2 separate regions of the Homo sapiens genome follow, and region 2 is linked to region 1. The links are contacts of gene promoters, found by promoter capture Hi-C in human tissues and cell types (Jung and others, 2019). All regions are on one chromosome and are shown on one strand. Each heading gives the region's core, a stretch centred on a gene start or on the middle of the fragment in contact. The rest is flanking DNA. Distances are from core to core; before and after follow the strand shown.

What was found. The method cuts DNA at HindIII sites, captures the fragments that hold promoters and counts their contacts. A contact is called where the count stands out against the background at its distance.
Region 2: a fragment that was not itself captured here is called in contact with the fragment with the promoter of EIF4A3 in region 1 in 2 of the 25 tissues and cell types used here (bladder and lymphoblastoid cells).

What each region holds. Positions count from the first base shown.
Region 1 is chr17:80,143,822-80,151,141 of GRCh38, forward strand. It overlaps EIF4A3 (eukaryotic translation initiation factor 4A3), which reads right to left and starts at 3,307. Exons shown (of 12, transcript NM_014740.4): 1 at 2,972-3,307; 2 at 351-423. The coding sequence starts at 3,140. RefSeq lists enhancers at 2,534-3,248, 3,249-3,961, 3,962-4,675, 4,676-5,388 and silencers at 2,886-2,935, 3,776-3,965. The HindIII fragment of the contact is 11,065 bases long and covers 1-7,320 here.
Region 2 is chr17:80,419,893-80,427,212 of GRCh38, forward strand. It overlaps ENDOV (endonuclease V), which reads left to right. Exons shown (of 10, transcript NM_173627.5): 3 at 1,936-2,070; 4 at 2,314-2,353; 5 at 3,628-3,740; 6 at 5,140-5,208; 7 at 5,600-5,728. Among named protein-coding and RNA genes, the nearest start is that of MIR4730, 4.1 kb to the left of the region's middle. RefSeq lists enhancers at 5,061-5,562, 5,563-6,062. The HindIII fragment of the contact is 8,908 bases long and covers 1-7,320 here.

The DNA of each region.
Region 1 (7,320 bases), core at 2,057-4,556:
ATATGAAAATTAGTCGGGCATGGTGGTGCATGCCTGTAATCCCAGCTACTTGGGAGGGTGAGGCAGGAGAATAGCTTGAAACTGAGAGGCAAAGGTTGCAGTGAGCCGAGATGGCACCACTGCACTCCAGCCTGGGCAACAGAGCGAGACTCCATCTCAAAAAGAAAATGAAAGCTTTCCACAGTAGAGAACACAAATTTAAAAAAGTATTAAACCCTGTGGCTAAAGTCAGGGAAAGTGTTGGAACTGAGCGTGTACAAGCTGAGGGAAACAGTCATCCCAGAGCATCTAACTGCACTGCGCTGCCCAAATTTACATCCAGCCCTGCGCCGCACCCCAGGACAACTTACTGTGCGATGACATCTCTCCCTTTGATGATCTGCTTGATTGCTCGTTGCTGGATTGCTGATGGTTTTTCAAAACCTGCAAATAAAAACAAAAAATTAGCCCTCACCACAATGACAGCATAGAAACCCTGTACTGTGAGCTCCTCAGGGGCAGACATGGTTTGTTTTTTGAACCTGTCCTCCAGCCTAACCCAGTGTTCAACATAGCAAGCTCTCAAAACCCAGGGGCTCAATGAATTGGGCTGAGTGATTTCTACACTAACGTGGGATATTATTTGTAAAGACCAATCTCTATTTTTAAAAAACCACCAAATTGTAGAATATAGACAACAGTTTTGTTTAAAAAAAAAAAAAAATCTGGGTGTGCAGCATCTGGAAGTGTAAGTGCCAAAATGTTCCTGGCAGTTACTGCAGTAGAGGGGTGGAAAGAAACTTACTTTTTACTCTAATTACTCCCTTAGGTTTGACTGGATTACAAACAACCTATACTACTTTTTAAATTAAAAAAAAAAACAACAAAAAAACAGGAAAGTCACTCTAGCCATTGTTCTCTCCTACTAGCTAGCATTAAGTCTGTGTGTTGCTGACAGGTCTACAACTCTGTTTAACCTGCGTGGGTCACGCTGCAGGGTGTCCTATGTTGTTCTGTCTGGATGCAGCTCACTAACTACAACACCATCACACCATCTCTCTTGCAAAGCAACTACTACACCAAAGGGTGAGGCTATTTTGAAGAAGAACCACGTGTTTTTCAAGTAAATAAAATTTTATGTACAAAAACTCTATTTCAATTATTTTTTGGTAGTCTCTTAAATGTAGCTCTGCTCAGTTCTGGGGCATAGCGAAAAATAAGAAACAAAAGAAAATGTAGCACAATTTCCCATCTTAACACAAATGCAAATATAGCAGATGATTTAAACTCTTCATGAAGAGCAAGCACATAGATGGGAAACTAACAACAGTGTCTTAGGGCAGGGACTGCCTGAGTGCCAGGAAACCAGGTGGGGCTGTCAGCCTCACTGTGAGGCTGCCTGAGATGCTTTTTCACCACGCATCCTCAGCAACTTCGCTTCACTTTGTCCAAACTGTTGTGGCATCAAGAACTACAGGATACGGCCAGGTGGGGTGGCTCACACCTGTAATGCCATCACTTTGGGAGGCTGAGGCTGGTGGATCACTGAGGTCAGGAGTTCAAGACCAGCCTGGGCAACATGGCAAAATCCCCTCCCTACTAAAAATACAAAAATTAGTAGGACGTGGTGGCCCACACCTATAATCCCAGCTACTCGGGAGGCTGAGGCAAAGGAATCGCTTGAGCCCCAGAAGTGGAAGTTGCAATAAGCTGAGATCATGCCACTACACTCCAGCCTTGGTGACAAGAGCAGGACTGTCAGAAGGAAAAGGAAGAAAGAAAAGGAAGAGAACTACAGGATAAAAAATGTCCCTGTCCCAAGCATTAAACACAGGCCATTTATCCCAGATGCTGGTCATTCCCATCTATGTGCCCAACCCAACCTCTTCTCCAGGCTCTCCCTCAACTTCCTCACATCTTTCAAACATACCAAGAGACAGCTCCTGATTCTGACTCTCTGGAGTGCTGCCTACCTAGCCAAATGTTTGCAGCATCAACCACCGGTTACTCAAAACACTCCAACTCTCCTCCTTCTGTCACTCACGTTCAATCCATCAGCCAATGCTGTCAGCTCCCTGGTACTCCATCTCCAAGGCAGCACAATCCTCTCTTCCCTGAACTGCAGCAAAAGCTCCCAACTCTCTTGTTTCCTCTCCTGCCTTGCCTCGCCTCACCTCAAATCTACAGACACCCAGAAGAATCTTTAAAACTGTAAATGTGATCGTGTCACATAGCTACTTAAAACCTTCCACTGGCTTCCCACTAGATTTCTAAATGAAATTCAAATTATTCGTCACCCTACACGTCTTTGCTAGATCTGCCCCGACTAGCTCTCCAAAATCCCACCACAGGGGACTTCTTTCAGTTCCTGGAATGCAGCTGGCTAAGGGCTGCAAGGCCCTGGCACCAGCTGTTCCTTCTGCCCCAACTGCTCTTCCCTCTTCTCATAACAGTCTCCTTCATCCAGAACTCTGCTCAAATGGCACCCCCTCCTGCGAACCCCCTTACCTCTCTGCTTTACTAATTCTCTCCTCCTTCCCAGTCCCACTCTATTCAATTACCCCGCTTCAGGTTCTTCAGGTTGCCTGGGCAACCTGACAGTATGCTTTCCCCCCAAACGAAATTCAAAACCCGTAAAGGCGCAAACCCTTCCGGTTTACCGCCAAAACCCCAGTACCTAGAAAAGCTAATAGGTAGAAATCAGTTATCTGCTGAATGAAGGACGCTGAGGTGCCTCGAAGCGGCTGCAGCCCCCGACAGACCCAGCGCCGAGCTCTGCACGGGGGACACACACCGAAAGCGCCGACACAGCCAGGCGTGAGGGCGAGGACGGGGGTGGGGGTGGGGGTCGGACGTCACTGGCCCCCGAGCCTCGACCCTGACCACGACCTCCGGAGCGCAGGGCCGGCCCGGGAGTCACCAGTCTGGCCCTCAGCCCCCGGCTCGCCCCCGACTCGCCCCCGGCTGGCCCCCGCGGCCCGCGCCCGCTCACCGTAAGCGTAGATGCCCCGCAGCAGGTCCTCCCGCAGGCCCATGGTGTCGAACGTGGGGGTCACATCCACCTCCTCGCTGGTCTCGAATTCCACTTTAGTCATGTCTTCCTCTTTGAGCAGCCGCTTTCGCGCCGAGCCCGAGGTCGCCATCGTGGCCGTGGTCGCCATGATTCAGAGTCCGCGGAAGAGCACAGCGCGCGCCGCTGCCGACCTCGCTGCCGCTGCCGACCTCGCTGTGCCGCTGCCGACCTCGCTGCCGCTGCCGACCTCGCTGTGCCGCTGCCGACCTCGCTGTGCCGCTGCCGACCTCGCTGTGCCGCTGCCGACCTCGCTGTGCCGCTGCCGAGAACAGACGCCTTAAGTATGCGAAAGCGAGAGACGTGCGTGCGTACGTGCGTACGTGCGTACGCGCGACGCGGCCACGCCTCTGGGGGACGGGGCACTCTTCGTCACGTGAAAGGGAACTGGGCGTTTGCCGCAGGGAAAAGTAAGGTGTTTCTGCTCTCGCGCCATATGCAGTTCCCGCGGGATCTCGTTGAGGGCGGGGCACCCAGTTCCTTACGAAAGGGATGGAGGGGGTGGTACTTCTAAAGTTGGCGGTGTTTCGTACCGGCCGCGGGATTTCGCGGACTGGGGCGCTGAGGTTCTTTGAGCGGCGTGTGGACCTGAATTCCCTGGAAACAGGCTGGGGCCGCGAGGGGCCTCCGCTCCGGGCGGGGTCCCCAGATAGCCCCGCCTCGAATAAAAATGACGAGCACGGGTCCTCTCTCGGGCCCGCAGTGGGTGGACTGCGTCGCAGACCCGTAGTGGAGGCGCCCAGCTCGCCGGGGAGATTCGAGTGGAAACCCTCACGGCCGCCGGTGGTGGGCCCCGGCGCGGCGCTGGGCTCCGGCGGGTCTGCGCTGGGGAGGGCCAGGGCCCCTGAAGCCGGCGTCCCTCTTAGGGGACGCGCCTGGGTGTGTCTTCACCGTTTGCCTGGTGAGTTGGAGACAGGGTCTCGCTCCGTCGCCCAGGCTGGAGTGCAGTGGTAGGATCAGGGTTCATTGTAGCCTCCGCCTCAGCCTCTGGAGTAGCTGGGACCTCAGGCGCGCGCCACCACGCCCGGCTAATTTTTTAAATTTTTTTGTAGAGACGGGGTTGGGGGAGGCGGGGGTTAGGGTTGTCCTGGCTGGTCTTGAACTGCGGGGCCTCAGGTGATCCGCCTGCCTTGGCCTCCCAAAGTGCTGGGATTACAGGCATGAGCCACTGTGCCCGGCAAGCAGCTGTTATAAATAAAATACATGCTGAGCCTGCAATTTGCTCTTAATGAAGGCCACTTGTCAGTAGACGGTGCTGCTAATGCGTGTCCTGCAGCAAAGATAACCCAGACGGGATCATTTTTTAATTGCCCAGCAGAACTTTAACCAGTTGTGCATCTTAACCTGCTTTTTGTTTGTTCGTTTGTTTGTTTTGAGACAGTCTGGCCCTGTCGCCCAGGCTGGAGTGCCATGGCGCGATCTCGGTTCACTGCAGCCTCCACCTCCCGAGCACAGGCGATCCTCCCGCCTCAGCCTCCAGAGCACCTGGGACCACAGGTGTCCACGCGCAGCCACTAACCGCTTTCTTATCTGACACTTTAAGTGCTTCTTCGTACCCAGCTCCTCTAACGCCTTTTGAAGCAGCTCCATCATCTTTGAAGGGCAGTTCATGCTGTTGAGAATCATGTTTTTAACTTTGGGAAAATTGTATTTCCACGAGCGCCAGCTCTGTCCTTTTTTTTTTTTTTTTTTTTTTTTTTTTTTGACGGAGTCTTGCTCGGTTCGCCCAGGCTGGAGTGCAGTGTCGCGATCTCAGCTCACTGCAAGTTCTGTCGCCCAGGTTCACGCCATTCTCCTGCCTCAGCCTCCCAAATAGCTGGGACTACAGACACGCGCCACCACGCCCAGCTAATTTTCTGTATTTTTAGTATAGACCGGGTTTCACCATGTTGGCCAGGATGGTCTTGATCTCTTGACCTCATGATCCGCCCACCTCGGCTTCCCAAAGTGCTAGGATTACAGGCGTGAGCCACCGCGCCCCGCTATTTTGTGTGTGTGTGTGTGTGTGTGTGTGTGTGTGTGTGACAGAGTCTCGCTCTGTTCCCCAGGCTGGAGTGCAGTGGCGCAATCTTGGCTCACTGCAACCTCTGCCTCCCGGTTCAAGCGACTCCCCTTCCTCACCCTCCTGAGTAGCTAGGATTACAGGCATGCACCACCACGCCCGGCTAATTTTTGTATTTTTAGTAGAGATGGGGTTTCCCCGTGTTGGTCAGGCTGGTCTTGAACTCCTGACCTCATGATCTGCCCGCTTCAGCCTCCTAAAATGCTGGGATTACAGGCATGAGCCCGGTCCTGTCCTTTCTTATGGTCACAAATCTGGCTTGCATCGCTGGGCACATCTTTAATCCACAGCTTCTTTCTAGGAGTGCTTGAAAAGCTCTCCTTTTATGAAGGTTAATTTTAGTTAAAACCAGAGCATCCTGGCCAGGCCTGGTGGCTCACGCCTGTAATCCCAGCACTTTGGGAGGCCGAGGCAGACGGATCATGAGTGTAGGAGTTCGAGAACAGCCTGGCCAAAATGGTGAAACCCCATCTCTACTAAAAAAAAAATACAAAAATTAGCTGGCCGTGGTGACGGGTGTCTGTAGTCCCAGCTACTCTGGAGGCTGAGGCAGGAGAATCTCCTGAACCCCGGAGGTGGAGGTTGCAGTGAACCGAGATTGCGCCACTGCACTCCAGCCTGGGCGACAGAGACTCCATCTCAAAAATAAACAGAAAACCAGAGCATCCTTTTATCAAGAAGTCGGTGGATTGCAGTATTTCAAGGGTGAACAAGTAAATGCAGCCTTCTCCAAGAGTGAATCTCATTCTGGCACCAGAATTTATCCATGACAGATAATTGACCTTCTGATAAACATTCCTTGTAAGGATGCTGGTGTTACCCAAAATATTAAATATTTATAAAGCTGAATAAAATGTAAGTTCTGATACCTTCCTCACTCTACAAAGGATCATTTCGTGCCTCACACTGTTTGCCAGGCCGTGCTGTAGCGCTTTGTCGTAAAATACACACAGATTTCAATGACTTAACGTAGGAGAAGAATGTAAAATACCTTGTTGACTAAAGAAAAACAGTTAAGCTTTTAAAGAATTAAAGTTAGTTTTATTCAGAAGCCTTACTGAGGACCGTACATCCTGGCCCCAGCCCAGGAGCTCAAGCGATCCTCCTACCTCAGCCTCTCAAAGTGCTGGAATCACAGGTGTGAGCTACCAGGCCTCTCACCTTGTTCAAAGTTAAAATCTAATCCACAAACTGCTTAGATTTGTTTTCCTTCATATTTTTATGACTAGATGATCTAACATTTTACACCATTTTTCTGGAAATGTTGTTTATGCCAGGTGTCTGAACACACATCTTAAAGGGCTCTAACTTTTCTGGGGAGCAGTAGCTTTTTAGCCCAGAGTCTATGACAATGTGACAATGATGAGAGCTGCTGAGGTTTGCTGCAGTCTCTGGGTGAACGATGCTTTCTAGGGAAACAATGGGGCATAAAACAGACATGGGCTCTCCTGCCTTGAGATTAATCGCGTGAGATGGACCCCTCCCCAACACACAAACATTGTGGGACATGAGGTGCTGGAGACGGGGTTGCTCACCCAGAGCTTAATGGGTCTGTCCACCTTTGTGACCAAGAGGCCTCTTTTCTTAGAGGCTGAGGGGCCCTGGGATGATGAGGGTAAATCCACTTTTTAGAGCAGGAATCTCCAAACCCCAGGCCACGGACCAGTATCAGCACCTGTCTGTGGCCTGTTAGGAACCAGGCGGTGCAGCAGGAGGCAAGCAAGGGAGCTAAACTGAGCTCTGCCTGCTGTCAGCAGCAGCACTGGACTCAGAGGAGTGTGAACCCTGTTGTGAACTGCACATGCGAGGGATCTAGGTTGTGCACTCCTCATGAGAATCTAATGCCTGATGATGGGAGGTGGAATAGTTTCATCCCGAAACCACTACCCCATCCATCTCTGGAAGAATTTTTTTCCACCACCTGTGGAAAAGTTGTTGACGTGGCTAGACTTTGTGTCTTCACCCACATCTCATCTTGAATTGTAATCCCATAATCCCTATAATCCCCACGTGTCGAGGGAGAAGCCAGGTGGAGTAATTGAATCACGGGGATGAGTCCCCCATGCTGTTGTCTTGATAGTTGTCTCGAGATCTGATGGTTTTATAAGGGGCTCTTCCCCCTTTGCTTGGCACTTTTCCCTTCCTGCCATCTTGTGAAGAAGGTGCCTTGCTTCCCCTTCACCTCCTGCCATGATTGTAAGTTTCCTGA
Region 2 (7,320 bases), core at 2,216-4,715, 280 kb after region 1:
GTCACTGGCTTATGTTGAGATTGCTGGTCATCCAGACCTGCCCCCTACGCTAATCATACAGTGATTTTTCTTTTCCCAGATTTTTAATTTGAAAATGTACATACATCCCCCCAAATTGGAAAAGGATACGTTGGACACCTGTATTCCTTCTACTTAGGTTCAGCTGTTGCTGCTCTGGAATATTCTCTCTCGCGCACATGCGCTCTTTGTGTGCGTGTGTACCGTACATCCCAGCGACTGTGACAGCTCAGAAGACATCAGCAGGCCTGTCCTGAGAATGACATTCTCCTCCACAGCCACAGTGTCATTATCATACTGATTACACATCATAGTCATCCCATAATGTCACCTGAATGATAACATTATGGGAGAGATTCAGATGTAAGCAGCCACGCCCCTCCTGTGGGAACTCAGGCCACACTTGAATTCCACATGTCACTGTGCAAAGTGACTTTTACTCTGTGGGGATGTCAGTGATCCAGCCTGCTGGCTTCTCTGTGAACCCAAATTCTGTTATCAGAATGGACCCTCCCCACTTTGGGTCATGGGCAGATTTGATCAGTTTCCCCATTGAGTCATTGATGAAGATGTTGTGAGAATGATCCCCAACCCTCTGTGCTAATACAGAGCACTCCGTCTGCTTTGGTGTGTTTAATTATTGATCCAGCCACAAGTGAGGAGTGGAAGTTGTGATTTGAAAGCTGTCACCAAGAGATTTGGGGGATTCAGTAACAAAACTGCAGGAAGGTAGACAGGTCTGCAGAATGTGGACATAGTGGGAAACGTCTTCACATTAAGGGCAGTGTGACTAAGGAAAACACAAGGTTAGGAGACTCAGGCCTGCCATGTTGTGCTCTAAACTGCAGCCTCTGCCTCCTGGGTTCAAGCAGTTCTCCTGCCTCAGCCTCCCGAGTAGCTGGGATTACAGGCATGCGCCACCACGCCCAGATAATTTTGTATTTTTAGTAAACACGGGGTTTCTCCATGTTGGTCAGGCTGGTCTTGAACTCCCAACCTCAGGTGATCGTCCGCCTCGGCCTCCCAAAGTGCTGGGATTACAGGCGTGAGCCACCACGCCTGGCCAACACTGTGTCTTCTTTAAGCCTCCAACAACCCATGGAGGGGTGGGGTGGGGCATCGGCTTCAATACACAAAGGAGGAGACACCAGGAAAGCAAGGGGCAGGCAGAGGTGATGCAGCCAGCAGCCTTAGCCTTGCTTCTGATGAAGACCAGGTCCTGGGGGGCTCCCGCGGACCTGATCCCAGGGAATCCTCCTATGGACCAGGTCCCGGAGGCTCCTCCTATGGACTAGATTCCAGGGAATCCTTCTACAGTCTAGGCTTCAGGGGCTCATCCTATGAACTAGATCCCGGGGAATCTTCCTATGGACCGGGTCCCGGGGAATCCTCATACAGACCAGATCCCGGGGAATCCTCCTATGGACCAGGTCCTGGGGGCTCCTCATACAGACCAGATACCAGGGAATCCTCCTATGGACCAGGTCCCAGGGGCTCCTACTATACACATCAGGTCTGGGAGTTGGGGCTCCTCCAGTGGACCGGGTCCGGGGTGGGGGTTCTCATATGGACCGGGTCCCAGGGGGCTGCTGCTATGGACCAGGTCCCGGTGGGGGCGGGGTGGGGGTGCTGTTGCTACAGACCAGGTCCCGGGGGAGCTGCTGCTACGGACCAGGTCCTGGGGGGGTCTGCTCCTATGGACCAGGTCCCGGGGGTACCTGCCCACCACCAATTTGCAGGGTACATCTTCTAGTTCCTTCTTCCAAACCCATCATCTCATAGGTGAGGCAGGGAAGGGGAGCCATGAGGGTGACGTAAGGGAGAGGGAAGGATGAGGGGGGCAGGGCATGGACGGACTGGGGATGGAGCAGGTGGCCGAAGGCTGTGCTTCCCACTGAGCTGCGTGCCTGGTGTCAGGTGGTGTATGAGGAGAGCCGCATGGTCAGCCTCACAGCCCCCTACGTGTCGGGCTTCCTGGCCTTCCGAGAGGTGCCCTTCTTGCTGGAGCTGGTGCAGCAGCTGCGGGAGAAGGAGCCGGGCCTCATGCCCCAGGCAGGTGTCTCATCCCTAGGACGAGAGAAAGGTCCCTCCTTCCCCCTGGGGGAGGGAAGGCTGCTGCAGGTCGCCACCACCACAGTGGCAGGGAGAGACTCATGAGCTTCCTGGAAGAGAGGAATGAGGATTTCTAAAAAGCTGGACCCCAGAGACAGTGCCCCCTTCTTGCCTCAGGGATGGCCCTGTCCTGAGGGCCGAGGGGCAGCTCAGCTGACTGTGACTCTCCCTGTGGCTCCATAGGTCCTTCTTGTGGATGGAAACGGGGTACTCCACCACCGAGGTAATCCTGCTCTTGGAGGTCCAGGGAGGGCACTGTGGGGAAGAGCGGGGGGAGAGGGCACCTCTGTCGTCCCCCACAGAAAATGCTGGGCCCTCGGCCTCTGCCGCCAGCCCCCTCCAATGGCTTCTTTCTCGGCGCAACGGGGACGCGCAGTGCGCTCAGCCCCGCCTCCCCCACCGCCGGTAAAGGACTGTCTACTTTCGCTTCACCCCTTACCTCTTTCCTGTCCGCCACTGCCTTCTCTACAGTGCCCTGTGCTGGCTCATCTCCAGGTGCCACTATCCAGTTCTGACCTGATCACCAAAAGATGTCCCAGGGCCCGGGCTCAGAGTGGCCTTCCCTGCCAGCCGCCCAACCTGCATGGCCCGTCAGGCCCCTTGTCCACAACTAGACAGGTGTACCCAGGCCCCCACTGATGCCAGGAACCTTGGCCTAGGGAGCGTGGCTGAGGGAGATGGGCTCTTTTTTTTTTGAGACGGAGTCTCGCTCTGTCGCCCAGGCTGGAGTGCAGTGGCGCGATCTCGGCTCACTGCAACCTCCGCCTCCCGGGTTCATGCCACTCTCCTGCCTCAGCCTCCTGAGTAGCTGAGACTACAGGTGCCCATCACCACGCCCGGCTAATTTTTTTGTATTTTTAGGAGAGACGGGGTTTCACGTGTTAGCCAGGATGGTCTTGATCTCCTGACCTCGTGATCCGCCTGCCTCGGCCTCCCAAAGTGCTGGGATTTCAGGCGTGAGCCACCGCGCCCGGCCTAGGGAGATGGGCTCTTTTACTGTTACATACAGAGCTGCGGGCGGCGCAGCAGCACCCAGAGAGGGCCCAGGAGGGGTGACATTGGGCCTTCCTGGCCAGCAAGTGTGACTCGGCCCTGGCTGCTGCCCTCGCACATGGGTGCAGAGCCAAAGGGTTGTCATGTGCCGACCCACATGCTCGTGCCAGCGCTGGCAGGCCACCGTCGAGGGAAGAGGAAGCTGGGAGGTGCAGGAAATGACCGGAGAGCTGCAGTATCCCAGCACGCCAGCGAGGTGCTGACCCTGGCACTGACCGTGTCAGAGAGAAGGAGGCTTCCTCCACGGCCTTGCACCCAGGACATCGGGCACAGGGGGCTTTCGCCCAGGTCTGCTTGGGACTTAGATCTGGTTTCCCCAGCCCTCTGCCTGTCCACAGACCTCTGCTCACTTAGGGAAGCTTTTGGTAAGACTGGCTTGTCCTGAATCCCTGTGCCAGGCCCCAGCCCCACCTCCCCAACCCCACCCTCCTTTCTCTCTGGCAGGCTTTGGGGTGGCCTGCCACCTTGGCGTCCTTACAGACCTGCCGTGTGTTGGGGTGGCCAAGAAACTTCTGCAGGTGGATGGGCTGGAGAACAACGCCCTGCACAAGGAGAAGGTGAGGAGGGGCCTGCTGCAGGCCATGCCCGGCAGCTCAGTGGCGGGGCTGTGGTGGCCCTGGGCATGAGGACACTTCTGGACCAGCCCTTGCCTGCTGACGCTGCCCTCCTCATCCCTGGCTTGTGGCCTGGAGTAAGAAAGACCTGCTTTCCTCTGGGTGCTGCATTGCCTGTCTCAGCTGAGGGCGCTCTGAGCTCCTCTCCTGCCTCCTGGGTGTGCCTGCCTCTCTGGTCCCCCTTGCCTCTGAGCCACCGTGGCACACCAAGTAGGGCTAAGTCCTCCAGTTACTGGGGACAGGACGGGCTTCCAGGCTGTCCCGGGCGCACTTGGTGCTTTCCCCACCCCGCCTTGCCCCAGCCCCTGTCTCCTCCCCTGCATGCTCAGGTACCACAGCCTCCAGGCCCCCCTCCCGCCAAGACCTGCCTGGAGCTGCCACCCACACTCTTCCTACCTCACCTTCCCCTGCATCTTCCTCCTCTGGGACCCCATGTTGGCACTGGGAGTGAGACACTCACAATGGAGGGAGCTGTTGACACCCCCAGCTGTTTCACTGGATGGCAGATTCTGAGAGCAGAGACTGTGTCTCTCATTCCTCCTAGCTCTCAGGTGCCTGCATGGAGAAGTTGCTTAATAAAAATCTGTTGAGTTGATGGGGACCTTAGACCCACTCAATGAGCCAGTCCACCGCCGCCAGAAATACCAGCCTGTTGAGCTGTGTCAGATGTGCCCAAAGCAGGAGAGAAGCCACAGGAAGGAAGCGGGCTCAGCACCCATCACTGGGCAGTGGCGGCACCTGTGTGGCTGCCAGCCTGGCACAGCGGCCCTGGGCAGATTGTTGCCCTTGTTCTAAGCCCCATCATCAGGTTTGAACAGGGTCTTGTGGGCAGCACCCTCAGCTCAGGGACAAGACCACTTCACCGCCTGCACGCTCAGTGTCGTCTCAGGTGGTGTGGCTTTGCCTGGGCTGTGGCTCACCTCCAAGATCAGTCCCCTTCCCTTTCCTGGCCCAGTGACTGGGTTTTAAAAATAAAGAGACCTGGGCCGGTTGCGGTGGCTCACTCCTGTAATCCCAGCACTTTGGGAGGCCGAAGTGGGTGGATCACGCGATTAGGAGATCGAGACCATCCTGGCTAGCATGGTGAAACCCCATCTCTACTAAAAATACAAAAAATTAGCCGGGCGTGGTGGCACATGCCTGTAGTCCCAGCTACTCAGGAGGCTGAGGTGGGAGAATCGCTTGAACACGGGAGGCAGAGGTTGCAGTGAGCTGAGATCGCGCCACTGTACTTCAGCCTGGGCAACAGTGCGACACTCCGTCTCAAAAAATAGAGACTTGCCTTCAGCCCTTCACCAAGAAGAGAGGGGTTTTTTTCCCCATTTTTCCCTCCATTTTCCAGATCCGACTCCTGCAGACTCGAGGAGACTCATTCCCTCTGCTGGGAGACTCTGGGACTGTCCTGGGAATGGTGAGTAGCTAGGGCCCTGAGCTCCTCCAAAGCCCCGGGGTAGGGGATCCTTTGCAGGCAGACACAGGTGCATGCAGACACGCGTGCACTCACACTTGCCCACATCAACCCCCCGCCTGCCCGTCCATCCATCCTCCTGCCTCTGACTGAGTCCAGGGTGTGATGTTTGTGTTTCTTTCCTCCAGCCGTGCTGAGGGAGCCCACCCTCCCCCAGGGACAAGCAGCAGGAAGGCGCCCTGAGGGTGGGCAGGCCCTGGCCCCTGAGAGCACTGCCCCTTCAGCTTCCCCCTTGCCCCCAGGACATTTTGTCAGAGCTCCAGCTGCTGAGGCTGTCCTGACCCTGGTCCCGGTGGCCCAGCCCACAGGACAGCCCTCGCCTTCCTTGTCACAGGCCCTGAGGAGCCACGACCGCAGCACCAGGCCCCTCTACATCTCCGTGGGCCACAGGATGAGCCTGGAGGCCGCTGTGCGCCTGACTTGCTGCTGCTGCAGGTTCCGGATCCCAGAGCCCGTGCGCCAGGTGGGTGTGCTGGGGATGCGGGGAGGCAGCACAGGCTCCTCTGCTTCCTGCCACCTGCTGTTCAGGGCTCCCCAGCAGCTCAGCTGGGGTCAGAGTGCAGTGACATGAGGACGGGGGTTCCTGGGCCGAGGACAGGTCACAGACATCTTGCTGGAGAGCTTGCTGGGCCCTGCAGTCAGGACAGTAGACTGGGGGGTGCAGGGCTCCCAAGAGTTCATCCCCAGGCCCTGCACCCCATGCACTCAGCCTCCCAGCCTCTCTGAGCCTCCTGCACCCAGATACAGGCCAGCTTGGAGAATCAGTGATGTTAGCTCAGGTGGTGAGGTGTCCTGCCAGTTCCCAGCCAGCCCCTCAGGTCCCAGAGGGAGCAGCTGAACTTGAGCCAGGAGGCTCCTGCAGGAAAGCTGTGCAGGCCCCAGAGACGCCAGTCTGGGGACTTGGGTATGCCCGCCCCAGGACCCAGCACAAAACTGGTGTTCGGTCCCCCAGGAAGGGTGAGAACTCTGCTGAAGCCATCAGCTCAGCTGAGAAAGGACTCAGCCTGTGGGCCAGGGAGAGACAGCTGGCACGAGATGCCCACAGACAGCCTCGATAGGACCAGGGGACCACAAGACACGGGTGGATGCTGTCCCAGAGAAGCCCACAGAGTGAGGGTTCAAGAAAAGTCAGTCTTAGGAAGAGACCCGCTGGAGGAAGGGGAAGGACAGCCCTGGGCAGGAAGGAGTTTGATGTGCTCAAGAAATGGGGGGCCCGGAGGGTGGCTCACGCCTGTAACCCCAACACTTTGGGAGACAGAGGTGGGAGGATCACTTGAGCCCAGGAGTTTGAGGGCGCCCTAGGCAACATAGACCCCGTCTCTACAAAAAAAACGTAAAAACAAATTAGCCAAGTGTGGTGGTGCGTGCCTGTGGTCTCTGCTACTTAGGAGGCTGAGGCGGGAGGATCACCTGAGCCCAGGAGGTCGAGGCTGTAGTGTGCCCTGATTGGGCCACTGCACTCCAGCCTGGGTGACAGAGCAAGACCTTATCTCAAAAAAACTTTAAAAAACAAAAACTCAGCAGGAAGGTGTGGCCGGAGCCAGATGGCAGTGAAGTACAGAGTGGGTGGGAGCCCGTGAGCATCTTGGGGTGCGCCAGGGTTTCAGACGTCACCCACAGGGACTTGGATGGCTGTGAGTTGGCAGCGGGGCGCCCGCAGATTGGCCTTTTTAGGTGGCCGCTGTGCGTGCTGTGGAGGCTGTGGACGCAGGTCTGCACAAGCCATGCTGCTTCCAGCAGCCCAGCCCCTGAGCCTCCCTGGTGTCTGCCCCTTCCCCATCTTACCCCACCGCTTGCCCTGCAGCCTGCCCTGGGGCAGCCGCAGCACCGGTGGAAAACCCCCAGGCCACCACCTTCGGGCCGGGGCCTTCCGGCTGCTGGCGCGCAGTGTGGCCTCCAGGGGGCAGCAGCAGCCCACATACCACAATGGCCCTCGCCCTGGGGAGCTGTGCTCAGTGGTGGCGTCTGAGAGCGGGCTCCACAGCCTTGCAGGGCTTTGCTCAGGGCACAGGTGTGTGGACTCTCAAGCCTGTGAGCTGTGTCCCCAGCCCCCAG